5 separate regions of the Homo sapiens genome follow, and all the other regions are linked to region 4. The links are contacts of gene promoters, found by promoter capture Hi-C in human tissues and cell types (Jung and others, 2019). All regions are on one chromosome and are shown on one strand. Each heading gives the region's core, a stretch centred on a gene start or on the middle of the fragment in contact. The rest is flanking DNA. Distances are from core to core; before and after follow the strand shown.

What was found. The method cuts DNA at HindIII sites, captures the fragments that hold promoters and counts their contacts. A contact is called where the count stands out against the background at its distance.
Region 1: a contact is called between a fragment that was not itself captured here and the fragment with the promoter of EDN1 in region 4, in 1 of the 25 tissues and cell types used here (H1 embryonic stem cells).
Region 2: a fragment that was not itself captured here is called in contact with the fragment with the promoter of EDN1 in region 4 in 1 of the 25 tissues and cell types used here (hippocampus).
Region 3: a fragment that was not itself captured here is called in contact with the fragment with the promoter of EDN1 in region 4 in 1 of the 25 tissues and cell types used here (stomach).
Region 5: a contact is called between a fragment that was not itself captured here and the fragment with the promoter of EDN1 in region 4, in 1 of the 25 tissues and cell types used here (H1 embryonic stem cells).

The regions. Positions count from the first base shown.
Region 1 is chr6:12,639,441-12,642,140 of GRCh38, reverse strand. No RefSeq gene overlaps it. Among named protein-coding and RNA genes, the nearest start is that of LINC02530, 55 kb to the right of the region's middle. The HindIII fragment of the contact is 3,441 bases long and covers 1-2,700 here.
Region 2 is chr6:11,905,483-11,908,182 of GRCh38, reverse strand. No RefSeq gene overlaps it. Among named protein-coding and RNA genes, the nearest start is that of HIVEP1, 110 kb to the left of the region's middle. The HindIII fragment of the contact is 8,680 bases long and covers 1-2,700 here.
Region 3 is chr6:11,845,082-11,847,781 of GRCh38, reverse strand. No RefSeq gene overlaps it. Among named protein-coding and RNA genes, the nearest start is that of ADTRP, 68 kb to the right of the region's middle. The HindIII fragment of the contact is 6,547 bases long and covers 1-2,700 here.
Region 4 is chr6:12,289,015-12,291,714 of GRCh38, reverse strand. It overlaps EDN1 (endothelin 1), which reads right to left and starts at 1,354. Exons shown (of 5, transcript NM_001955.5): 1 at 1,022-1,354. The coding sequence starts at 1,085. RefSeq lists enhancers at 1,422-1,491, 1,502-1,601. The HindIII fragment of the contact is 6,997 bases long and covers 1-2,700 here.
Region 5 is chr6:11,887,883-11,890,582 of GRCh38, reverse strand. No RefSeq gene overlaps it. Among named protein-coding and RNA genes, the nearest start is that of ADTRP, 110 kb to the right of the region's middle. The HindIII fragment of the contact is 7,288 bases long and covers 1-2,700 here.

The sequences.
Region 1 (2,700 bases), core at 55-2,554, 350 kb before region 4:
AAAGGATTATAAATCATTCTACTATAAAGACACATGCATACGTATGTTTATTGCAGCGCTGTTCACAATAGCAAAGACTTGGAACCAACCCAAATGCCCATCAATCATAGATTGGATAAAGAAAATGTGGCATGTAAACATCACAGAATACTATGCAGCCATGAAAAAGGATGAGTTCATGTCCTTTGCAGGGACATGGATGAAGCTGGAAACCATCATTCTCAGCAAACTAACACAAGAACAGAAAACCAAAAATGGCATGTTCTTACTCATAAGTGGGAGTTGAACAATGAGAACACATGGACACAGGTAGGGGAACATCACACACCAGGGCTTGTCAGGGGGTGGGGGGTGGGGGATGGGATAGCAATAGGAGAAATACCTAATGTAAATGACAGGTTGATGGGTGCAGCAAACCACCGTGGCATATGTATACCTATGTAACAAACTGGCACATTCTGCACATGTGCCCCAGAACTTGAAGTAAAATTTAAAAAAATGAAAAGCTCTTGTTCAATGCAATGTAGAAATACAAAAAAAGAAAGAAAGAAAAAAAAGAAGTGGACTGTTACATTTACAGGTGGTTGATTTTTTTTTTTTTTAATGGAGTCTCGCTCTGTCGCCAGGCTGGAGTGCAGTGGCGCAGTCTCGGCTCACTGCAACCTCTGACTCCTGGGTTCATGCCATTCTCCTGCCTCAGCCTCCCAAGTAGTTGGGATTACAGGCATGCACCACCATGCCCAGCTAATTTTTGTATTTTTTTTTTAGTAGAGACAGAGTTTCACCACGTTGGCCAGAATGGTCTCGATCTCCTGACCTCATGATCCACCCCCCTTGGCCTCCCAAAATGCTGGGATTACAGGCATGAGCCACTGCACCCAGCCAGGTGGTTGACTTTTAACAAACATTTCAGGATAATTAACTGGTGAAAAACTTGTCTTTTCAACAAATGGCACCAGAACAGTTAGATATCCACATAAAAAATTGAATCTTCAAATCACCTCACAATATATATATAAAAATGAACAGAAACAGACATTCACATAAACATAAAAGCTGAAAGTATGGTACTTTAAACAGAAAGCATAGAAGTATATCTTCTTCCCTTGTAGGAAGAAGATATTTCTTAAATATGATACCAAAAACATAAACTATAAAAGAAAAAATTAATAAATTACATGACATTAAAATTCAAAAATGCTCTTCAAAAGAAACTGTTAAGAAAAATGAGAAGTCAAGTCATATGCTAGGAAAAAATTCACAATACATATATCTGACAAAGGACTTTAGAACTTACAGTGTACTCTTACAACTCAATAAAAAGTTTTTGAACATACCAGGTACAAATAGGGAAAAGATTTTAGCAGATTCTTCGCCAAAAAAAGTGTATACAGATGGTCAATAAGCACATGAAAGTAGCTCAACATCATTAGTCACCAGGGAAATAAAAACTAAGAGATCCCATTCCTCACCACCAGGATAGCTAAAATTAAAAAGGCTGACAATACCAAGTGTTGGTGAGAATCTGGAACATCTGAAACTTTCATGCATTGCTGTTGGGAAGGTAAATTGGTATAATTACATTGGAACAGAATTTGATGTTTTGTTATAAATTTAAATATTGTTTTACAGTGCTAGCCAGAAATTTTACTCCACTGTATGTACCTAAGACAAACTAAAGCATAAGTTTACAGGAAGAATTTTACACGAATGTAATTAGAAGCTTTATTTGTAATTACTCTAAACAGGAAACAACCCAAATGTCCATCATCAGTTGATTAGATAAACAAATTGTTACTTATGTTAAAATCAACACTTCTCAACAATAAAAAGGAACAAACTATTAACCTATGCATCATCCTGTTTAAATCTCAAAAACATTATGCTGAGGGAAAGAAGATAAGCAAAAAAGATTATATATTGTATAATTTCATTTACATTAAATTTTAGGAAAATCTAAACTGGTCTATAGTGACAGAATATTGCCCATGTGTTGATGGGGTTTGAAGTGATGAAATTTGACTGCAAATATTCTATATCTCGATTGTGATGGGTGTCACACGATTGTTACATCAGGATATCGTTTGTCAAAAGTCACTAAATTCTACACTTAGATTGTATACATTTTGTTGTACGATAATTATGACTCAAGTTGATTTTTGAAATGTTTTTTTCTGATTGTAAAAGTAATACAATCTTTTTTACAAAGTATGAGAAACAAAATGTAAAATTAAAAACAAAAACTGTGACCCAATACCCAGAGAAAACAAATACAGAAGATATGATATATTTTCATTTCCTTTTCCTTCTGATATATATGAACATTAAAGTTTATGTGGCATTATTGGATATTTGGGGGCATATAATTTATTGTTAGAATAAAGAATGCCAGAATAAACTTTTCGTATATATTCTTTGACTAAGCTTCCAGTAATTTCCAGAGCCATATTACTAGTCAAAGGGTATTACATTTTTTTATTATACTTTAAGTTCTGGGGTACATGTGCAGTACATGCAGGTTTGTTACATAGGTATACACGTGCCATGGTGGTTTGCTGCACCCATCAACCCGTCATTTACATCAGGTATTTCTCATAATGCTATCCCTCCCCTAGCCCCCCACCCCCCGACAGGCCCTGGTGTGTGATGTTCCCCTCCCTGTCTCCTTGCTATGCTTTGTAAAATTTTTTCCTAGAATGA
Region 2 (2,700 bases), core at 93-2,592, 380 kb after region 4:
GGCATTTCTGTAGATATTTTGAAACATGAAACGTGCACAAAATAATAAGTTGTTATTGTGTGAAAGGAGTTTATCGAATTTTCACATATTCCCTGCTCCCTCAACCTCCCACCTTCCAAACTTTTTTCAGAAGACAATTAAAAACAGTGTATCTTTTTTATAGGTTTTTTTTTAACCTACTTTCAGCTGTCATGTAGGGTCCTCTGTCTCATCTCTGTCTGCATTGCTTCCCTTTGGTTTTGAAATTTCGCTTTTGCTGATGAACAATACAGTTAGGAGTTACTGTGTTCCATTAATCATTCTAAGAGTGATTTACAGACTTACAGCATATATACTTATGTATACCTATTAATACAAAATAACACAAGATAAAAATAAGTAAACATGATTTAGTGAAATAAAAATAAGTTGAAAAAGTCAAGTCAAGCCAAGTCAAAGGAGAGCTCAATCTATAATATGTGGGCCATGAGAATCACCATAGTTTGTAGAAGTCCATGGATGTGTCTCTGAGGTTTCTAGCAGCCAATACAGAGAAAGATGATGTAATGATTATTTATCTGATTCATAAAATAATTAAGGTCAAGACACAACTTTCCCTGGTACTATGTCCCCAGCAAATTTCCTCCTGTGGGTCTCTGGCAAGAAGACCCTGTGTGATGCAGTGAATGGAGTCCTCAGTTAATCAAGAGTGTGTCCAACATCAAATTTCATAGATTTGTTTCCCACAACGCAATGCATGCAGGTTGATGCCACAGTCTTGAAAAAAAAGTCTATTCAAAGAAGTTCTATGGTGTTCAGTTAGAATGGAGATAATTAAAAAGTCAGGAAACAACAGGTGCTGGAGAGGATGTGGACAAATAGGAACACTTTTACACTGTTGGTGGGATGGTAAACTCGTTCAACCATTGTGGAAGACAGTGTGGCGATTCCTCAAGGATCTAGAAGTAGAAATACCATTTGACCCAGCCATCCCATTACTGGGTGTATACCCAAAGGATTTAAATCATGCTGCTATAAAGACACATGCACACATAGGTTTATTGCTGCAGTATTCACAATAGCAAAGACTTGGAACCAACCCAAATGTCCATCAATGATAGACTGGATTAAGAAAACGTGGCACATATACTCCATGGAATACTATGCAGCCTAAAAAAGGATGAGTTCATGTCCTTTGTAGGGACATGGATGAAGCTGGAAACCATCATTCTCAGCAAACTATCACAAGGACAAAAAACCAAACACCACATGTTCTCACTCATAGGTGGGAACTGAACAATGAGAACACTTGGACACAGGAAGGGGAACATCACACACCGGGGCCTGTCGTGGGGTTGGGGGAAGGGAGAGGGATAGCATTAGGAGATATACCTAATGTAAATGATGAGTTAATGGGTGCAGCACACCAACATGGCACATGTATACATATGTAACAAACCTGCACGTTGTGCACATGTACCCTAGAACTTAAAGTATAATAAAAAAAAAAGAATAAACAAGGCTATTCCCACCCCCCCCCCGCCAAAAAAAAGAAGTTCTGTGGTGTTAAATGGGAAGGACAAGGAGAATGGAGACCAGCTTTCTGATGGTCTGGCTTAATTCTGTAGAAGGTTTAGGTTACTTGGAGAAATGGATGAATTGCATATACTTTAGGCAACATTTGGTAAATAGTGCTTCTCTCCCTGAACTTTTGCTAACATTGAGTAGCAGTGATTTTGAAGTTAGCTATATTGTTAAACTCCTCAAAAGAGTCCTGGAATATTTTGCTTATTACATGTAGTTCTATATACTTTAGAAAATAGCCTAGCTGATGATTGGGTTGATATTTTCTATGAACGTTAAAAAATCTGTTGGAAAGCTCGCTATTTCAGCCTACCTCTGTGATCCAAAATATTCCCTGAAAAATATTTTGGTAGTGAAGCTTCTTTCTATTGATATGAGCTTTTTGAAAAACTTGAAGGCAGTTTTAAAAAAATGCAATTCATAGGCTTTCAATTTAGCTTACAAATCTTACTCTATTTTTAAGTCTAGTAAATTTTATCAGTTATTTTTAAGGGGTTTTTAAATTCAGTTTGGTCATATTTACAGATTTTGCTAAAATGTTTAAACCTTCAAACGTTTAAAATTTTGTTTATAAATTTGACACGTTTAATTTAGTTTTATAGGACATGTATTTCAATTTTCTCAACAACAACAAAATCTTTCTGAGCATTTAAGTCTTATATATTGTAAAATTTCCAATACTAAACTAAACTTAGTAAGATTTTAGTTTAAAATCAGAAGTCTACAATGAGAGTTACAAAACACTGCTCAAAGAAATCAGAGAAGACACAAATGGAAAAGCATCCGATGCTCATAGATAGGAAGAATCAATATCATTAAAATGTCCATACTGCTCAAAGCAATGTACAGATTCAGTGCTATTGCTATCAAACTACCAATAACTTTCTTCAAAGAACTAGAATGGGATAAAATATTTGCAAGCTATACATCTGACAAAGGTCTAATACCCAACATCTATAAGAAACTTATACAAATGTATGAGAAAAAAACAAAGAACCCCATTAAAAAGTGGGCAAAGGACATGAAAAGACACTTTTCAATAGAAGACATACATGCAGGCAACAAGCGTATGAAAAAAGCTCAATATCACTCATCATTAGAGAAATGCAAATCAAAATCATAATGAGATACCATCTC
Region 3 (2,700 bases), core at 106-2,605, 440 kb after region 4:
ATCTAGTTCAGTAGTAAACCTAAAAGAAAGTGTCATCTAACAAAACTCAAGTTGTTCTTCTTGCTCGTCTCTAAACTCAAACCACCCCTTTGTGGTCTGGTCTATTTCAGGTGAATTCCAGAAAGTCCCTTTTCACAACTGCTCCTTGGAAGCAGTGCACCAATTATGTCTTGTAGTAAGAGAAAATAAAATAATAAAATAAAGAAAAAGAGCTCCAACAGAGAGAGGGGCATGTTTCTCTGAGAGGGGTCACATAGATTCTGTGCCTGGAAAAGCTCTTCATAGAAGCCCCTGAGCCATGAGCAGATGGGGTGACATATAAGTTGATTCATGTACCACAGTCTGGCCTGTTGTATCAGTCCATTTTCATACGGCTATGAAGAAATACCCAAGACTGGGTAATTTATAAAGAAAAAGAGGTTTAATGGACTTACAGTTCCACATGGCTGGGGAGGCCTCACAATCATGGCAGAAGGCAAAGGAGGAGCAGAGGCACGTCCTACATGGCAGCAGGCAAGACAGCATGTACAGGGAATCTCCCCTTTATATGACCATTGAGTCTTGTGAGACTTATTCACTATCATGAGAACAGCATGGGAAAACCTTCCCCCATGATTCAATTATCTCCCACTGGGTCCCTCCCATGACATGTGGGGATTATGGGAGCTATAATTCAAGATAAGATTTGGGTGGGGACACAGTCAAACCATATCACCTGTCATTGTCATTGATTGTATTCTGAGAGCTAACAAATGAGCCATCACCCCTAATTAGAATGCAAGGGTGGCTTCCAGGAACTGTTCCTAAAAAGAAAGAATGCCATCTGAAAGAAGATGCCCACCTACCTGAAGGGATGTTGTAAGTCACTAAGGATGTAGTAGCTGTGAGTTGGCCGTGCCACTGGGGGAGATCTACCATCAGGGCCCTGGAGGGCCAAGATGCAAAGTGCAGATGGAGCCCTGGAATATGGTGCCAGGGACCTTACAGGTGGTCATGTGTTTTAAAACGCTCTCCCTCTGGGACATTGGAGGAATCTTGTAGGATCAGGAAACACTGTGCTTGTAACAGCATTTCTATGTACTATCTGCAGAACAGATAGCAGCCACTGAGTTTCCACACTTTACATTTTTCCTCCCTAGGGCAACTGAAACAGAATAGGAGTGACTCTCCAATACGAGGAATGATCTACGTTTGGGGAGGGAGGAATGTACCTCTACTACTCTCCCTCAACCCAACGAATGTTAACCTAGAATGTTCTTGCTGTATGTGGTTTGGTATTAGAGGCTGTAGTCTGAAATTAAGAGTGAAAGGTTGGAGCCAGGATCCTCAAATCTTATTTTCTGTTCTGTTGGTGGCTCATTGCCTAACCAAAGATTCTTTGACAAGGACAGCCACAGACCTGGGGGACAGATGCCAGAAGTCGTGAGCCACATTGATAAAGGGTTGCAATACAACACAGTTTGTTTTTCAAGTATATATGTAATAATAGGACAATACCATCTACATTGGTCATTTAGTGCTTCAAGCTTGCTTTACTCTCTGCAGAGCTACGGGTCGCTGCAGGTTTTCCGGGAGGCTGCCCCAGATCTGTGCCCACATAGCCTGAACCTGTGAAAGGATTGCATTCCTTGGTTCTTTCTCAACAGAACTGGTCCTGCCAGTCAAATTCTTTGGGGTTGTGAGGACAATGCACCTACAGATCATATAACTGTAAAATGAAAATTGATTTTAAGTGTTTTTGGAAATGTGGGGTAGGAGGATTGTTTTTCATCTCACCATCACCTTGGATTTTAGACCTTCTTGTCCTGGAATCTGTGACATATTTTTGATTCTACAAGAAAAAAATCTGTGTCCCTTAGGAAATGAACTCAAGCTCAAGTGACTAGACCTTTTTGTGTTCACCTAGCACTTACACTTTCCAAAAGAAATAATCAGATAAGATGACCTCATTGCCAAGCACTTCCACTGGCTAGTCAATGCCTGCCTATAGGGGGTAGATCTCTCTCTAGCCCAGTGGCATTGGGTAGGATAGCAGTTCTTTTCCAATTCCAATCTGCTATGTCCAGAGTAAACATGATAACTGATTTTACCTCCCAAACTAAGCAGCCTGTGCAAGTCACAGGGTCTACTGAGGAAGATCAAAGGATTTAGGGCCGTTTCCTTAAAGATGGGATTGTGCCATTGCAGGCACATATGTCTTCATGAACTCCATCATAAGTGCATGCAACGCCCACATCCCATGTGACTACCTCCGTCCACTAAAGCGTAGTCACCATTTCAAATCACCTATGCTGGGCTCCAGAAGGTATTTTCATTACAGTTGATCATCTCCAATTCCCAAATTCAAAATCCAAAATGCTCCCAAATCTGAAACTGTTTGAGCCCCAAAATGATGCCACAAGTGGAAAATTCCACACCTGACCTCATGTGACAGATCAAAGTCAAAATGCAGTCAAAGCTTTGTTTTATGCACAAAATTATTAAACATATTGTATAAAATTACCTTCAGGCTATCTAAAGCATAAGTGAATTTTGCTTGGGTCCTATCCCCAAGATATCTCACTACATATATGGAAATATTCCCAAATCTGAAAAAAAATCAAAATCCAAAATATGTCTGGTTCTAAGCATTTCAGATGAGGAATACTCAACCTGTACTGCAAAGTTTAGTCTCACTACACATTCTGAAAATGTTACCAA
Region 4 (2,700 bases), core at 105-2,604:
GGGCTGAGAAGCAGGTCAGGGGACTGAAGGTAGGCTGGGGGGATTTTGAATTCCGAATCCCTGGGCATCAGGCTTGTGTGGGATCCACTGCCTCCCCCTTCTCCACTACTGCCTTGCCTCTTCCTCCTAACAATTTAGCCATGCAGCTTATCTGCCCAATTTTGTACATTTCAAATGATCAGACACATTCCAGGATTTTCATTCCCTTGACATCCTTTCTCTTTAGTCAGGGTCACGAAAAGACAAAAAAAGTGCACTGACCCTAAAAACGGGGGGGACCCGGGCAGATGCACACGCACTGCCTAAATCCTTCGGCAGCCAAGAATTATCCTAGCTCCCCTCCCAGCACAGGTGAATAAAGCTGAAAAGAGAGCTCACACTGTTTTGGGTGCCAAAAACCTGCCAAAAGAAACCTAAAGTCAATGATGACAAATTTTAAAGAAAACATCTGCTTCACCCAGAAACCGCCTGCGGGGGGTGGTGGCGGGGGGGGGGGGAGGCGGTAGTTAGTCAACAGACTTTTGCTCTGCAGGTGATTTTACTGAACATACATTGCTTGAACGACTGGATACAATTCCTTGGCTTCAAGCTGGAATGCTTAAATATTTTACACGTTAACACACTATTAAAATAGTGTTTAAATAAGATTTAAGTTCCTATATGGCCTGTGTACCTGTATAAACACATATATTACAAACATACATTTGACTAAATTGTATATGTCCATACTCTTCTCATTTTTTAAAAGCCAAGGAAACACATAATGGAATAATAATAATAAAACGATAAGTTATTTTAATGTCATGTTATAGTCAATTGCACCTAATTGTATTCAATAGAGGAATTTTACATTTTACACTAGAAGACTTAAAGTAGCTTTCAGCAATAATTCTCAGACACTTGCTCTCTAAGCTGCAGTCATAAAAAGAACGGGGAAAAATAGAAGCAAGAAAAGCATGAAGGTGGATAAGAACACACTAACTTGTAATTCCGAGACTTACAAGTCAACGAGCGTGCCTACCTGTTTCTGGAGCTCCTTGGCAAGCCACAAACAGCAGAGAGAAAATCATGAGCAAATAATCCATTCTGAAAAAAAGGGATCAAAAACCTCCCGTTCAAACTGAACCCAAAGGAAAACGAAGAAAAACAGCTTCAGGTCCCTCAAAGCGCTGCGGGTTCCTCAGATCTCAAAGCGATCCTTCAGCCCAAGTGCCCTTTTAACGGGGAGAAAAGGCAGCGCCTGCCAGGAGAGAAGGCAGCGAGCGGAGCGTCTGCAGGCGCACGCGGCGGTGGAGAGCTGGGACTGCAGGAGGCGCAGGACCCGTTCGCCTGGCGCAGATGCAGAGGCGCGTCTGACTTGGACAGCTCTCTGCCGGCTTTTTATATTGAACCCCTATTAGAGTGGGGGTAAACAGCTCCGACTTTATTCCAGCCCCAGACAATGTTATTGTGTTATTAGTCACCAACAGGCAACGTGCAGCCGGAGATAAGGCCAGGCCCGAAAGGAAATCACTGCTAACTTCAGAGGCAGACGCCCGCCGTCTGACAATTCGGGGGCAGGGCTAAGAAAAAGAAAATACCCATTAGAGACCTTTGCTAAACCTGCCCGTGCAGTGCTGGAGTCCGCTTCCCCTTTGCAAGCTGCCAGCCCCGGAGTTCAAGAATCAGAAGAGGGGACTCCAGAAAAAAAGTCATACCATTGGTATGAAAAGTATGAGCCACAGTTTAAATAGATTGTATTGTTGTGTGCGGGGAATTTTTTTTAATTGTTGCTCGCTTCATTTTCCTTTTATGTCTCTCCGATTCTAGTCTCAGTCAAACAAGGGAATGCTCTCCCTCGTCACTGCCCCACTACTGGGGGTCAGACTATTTTGGCAGATCAACGTACTTTTCTCTTCAAGCCCCTTCCTGCGGGTCTTTTTTGCTGAAGTTCTTTGCATCTATCGGAGAAAGATCCGTGAGGGATTGGCAAGAAAGGGAGCTTAAAAATAACATCAGAGCTCGTTTAGGCACATGCCCAGTCTTTTCCCTATCACTGATGAGAAGCCCCGATAAGTTCTTTTGTGTGTCCACACTTCCCCTGCGGAGGAGGCTGATAAACTGATTGAAAAGCAAAGGTGTTTTTCACACAGAACTTAAATCTTAAGATTGGTCGGTGCCACCAATCTTAAGACATGGCGGGAGAAGAACACCAGGGGGAGATGAAGAGCTACAGGGGCTGATGTTTTACTAGGACAAAAAGGAAAACCCTTCTAAATGGCAGAAAAAAACGCAACCTGGCTTGGGGGCCGAGGAGGGTCAAGGAATGTTGCCTAACATAGGAAGGAGGAATGCACCTCAGAATATTCTATTTATTCCCCGCACAAGCAGGGACATATTTTCTGGGACTCTTTTTTTTGGGGGGGTGTCTTCATTTAGGGCAAAAAGGTGTTCTTGTACAAGGTTAAGTGAATATGCAAGGAAGGTGGTGCTGAGAAGGAAATGCCATTCGAACAAGGAATCAGATAATACTTCACATTTAATAATGTGTTTACATTTTCAAAACAATTTCCTGTCTATCTAACCTTGAAATCCCCCCCTGAAGTACACACAGGGCAGTTACTGTACAGGTGACATCATGCCTTAATAAAGAAAGCAAAAGGTGCATGGAACACATTGGCTTTTTCCGCTAGTCCCATTTTTCAGGTTAGACAACTGAGC
Region 5 (2,700 bases), core at 185-2,684, 400 kb after region 4:
TAAGGAAAAATATCCACTCATTTCTACCTCTAACAAATAATATTTTGAGGTATTTCCTTCTAGTGTTCTTGCTATTTATTACATGCCTAGATTTGCATAACTGTGATCTTACAATTTCTTTATATTTATCCAATTTTGTATTACACATTTTAAATGAATTGTATCATCAGCATTTTTAATATATGGGATGTTTTTATAAGTTATGCCTTCCTTCACTCTCCTTCACTTTCTTCTTTTAAGCTATCAAAGCACTTCCAAAATATTTGAGAATAATAGGTAGTCACCAAAAAGTGAATTAAATAGAAGTAATGTTGTGATAAATGGAGACTGTGTACATGCATATTTATAAATACAGTATTTACCTATTGACTACACCACACACATTCTCCTTTCCACAGCTTAGATGTTTTAAGTTGTGTTTTTGTGTTAAATTGCTTTGTATATGTTATAAAGGAAAAATAAAATGTAAAAAATAAACATAAAAATGGAGAATTAGTGGAGAGTGATTTTCTCTGCAATAATTTTTGATGTTCTTCACCACAATTAGACACCAGAAAAGTTACAGAAAAATGGGTGAGATTATTTTACCTATTCCTAGAATGGCATAGAAAGGATAATAGAAAATTAGCCATAAAATATTCCTCCTTGAGGCTATGAATCTTTCTCCATTACCCCAGAGCACTTAGATCATAATTCGGTCATGGTGCATGATGTTATGAATAATGAACATTATGATTTCCTAACTGGTGTGTCATACGTTGTAAAAATCTTTAGAATTTTTTGCAGATGGAGATGTTTATAAGAAAACTGGAAAGAGAATTGAAATGAATTATGTATGCTTGTATGTGTGTGTGCACACGCCCATGGGCATTCTTGCACTAATTGATTTGAATGCTATGTGTGTAGCAATTGGTGACTGAATTCTTTCTTGCCTTTGGCATTAACATGTAGGCCATAACCCACAGATGAATATTAATCACATTCTATAATTATCCTTTCAGTTATAAACATATAAATATAAATATATAAACCAGTGCCTATATCTAGATATAGGTTTGTGTATATTTAAAGAGATAATTATACGTATAATTATATATGTATTATGTAATATGTGTTACATATAATCAGTGCTATTTCAATTATACTGCTCTGACTTTTAAAAGTTAGTCATTGCTACCCTGTCAGAGAATAAAACTAATTAACTTTCAGAAATTTGGGAATAGAAATGAGCTTGGCTTACTCATGAACAGGAAAATATTTGGTCTGGCTTGAGCAAAGGTTACTTGACGAGAATATAAAAAGTCAAGTTGAATAGATTGGGTGAAGTGCTAAATTATAAAATAATGAAAAAAATTAAACTGTGGAGTTTGTTTTTTTTTTTGGCCTCTTCTCCTATCTTTGTAGTTATAATTGCAAAATAATCTCCCAAATATCTGTAAGTTCTGAACAGGTAAGAGGACCTGAGCTCCCATGAAGGTAAAGGAAAGATAATAGAATAACTTGTGTTTGCCCAGAGTGGACCACTTTGCAGAGAACTTCCATCATATTATTAAACTTAAGTTGCCCACGTTCCTTGTCAGAATTCCAAACAAAAAGAGCTAAACAATGGGATACTGGACATCAGAGAAAAGGAAGGAATGTTTTAGTGTCAAACCGCAACCTCAGCTCTTTTCCACCTTCTTCCATGGGCTTATTGCTGTGTCCTGTGAAGGCAACTCACTAGGGTCTGTTTCTGGTCGGTATTCCGTAGTTTAGCTTCAGCTTTCTCTTTCCATCTTCCACCTATCAATCTTTTCTCTCAGAACTCTGTACCTGCTTCCACTTTCCAAGTCGGCTAACTAGTTGATGAAATTCACAAATCTGCATTGAATTTTTTTTTTTTTTTTTTTTTTTTTTTGATACGGAATCTCGCTCTGTTGCCCAGACTGGAGTGCAGTAGCACGATCTCAGCTCACTGCAACCTCTGCCTCTCAGGTTCCAGCAATTCTCCTGCCTCAGCCTCCCGAGTGGCTGGGATTACAGGCACCCACCAACATGCCCGGCTAATTTTTGTATTTTTAGTAGAGACGTGGTTTCGCCATGTTGGCCAGGCTGGTCTCGAACTCCTGACCTCCGGTGATCCGCCTGCCTTGGCCTCCCAAAGGGCTGAGATTATAGGCATTAGCCACTGTGCCCAGCCTGCATTGATTTCTTAAGATGATCTATGATGGCTAGCTTGTCTTCTCTCAGCATCTAAACTTCAAATCACATTTAACCCCTTTGTCTCTCTCATTATTTTTCATCTTTGGTTACTCATCAAGTCTTTTTTTACTTCCCTTCAGATTTTCTCTTTTATCCACAGATTATTTAGAAGTTTGTTGCTTAATTTTTTGGTGTTAGGAGATTGTTTTGGTCTTCCTATTATTCATTTTTGGTTGATTCCCTTGTGGTTAGAGAACACAGCTGTGAATAATTTCATGTTTTTATTGTCTTCTATTTATCCCATTGGCAAGGGAGAAATTTCTACTCTATGGTTCTTGGGATGGCCAAACTTAAGACACTCAGTGCTGTACAGATGAGCTTGACAGCAGTTTATCAGTTACATATACCCGTAGCCTGCAATGGGAGGGCACTGCGCACCATCCAGGGCTATATAGGTGTTGCACTTGGGAAAAGAGTGTACAACTGGGGGTTGTGTGAGGTTGGCTTTGCAGTATTAAG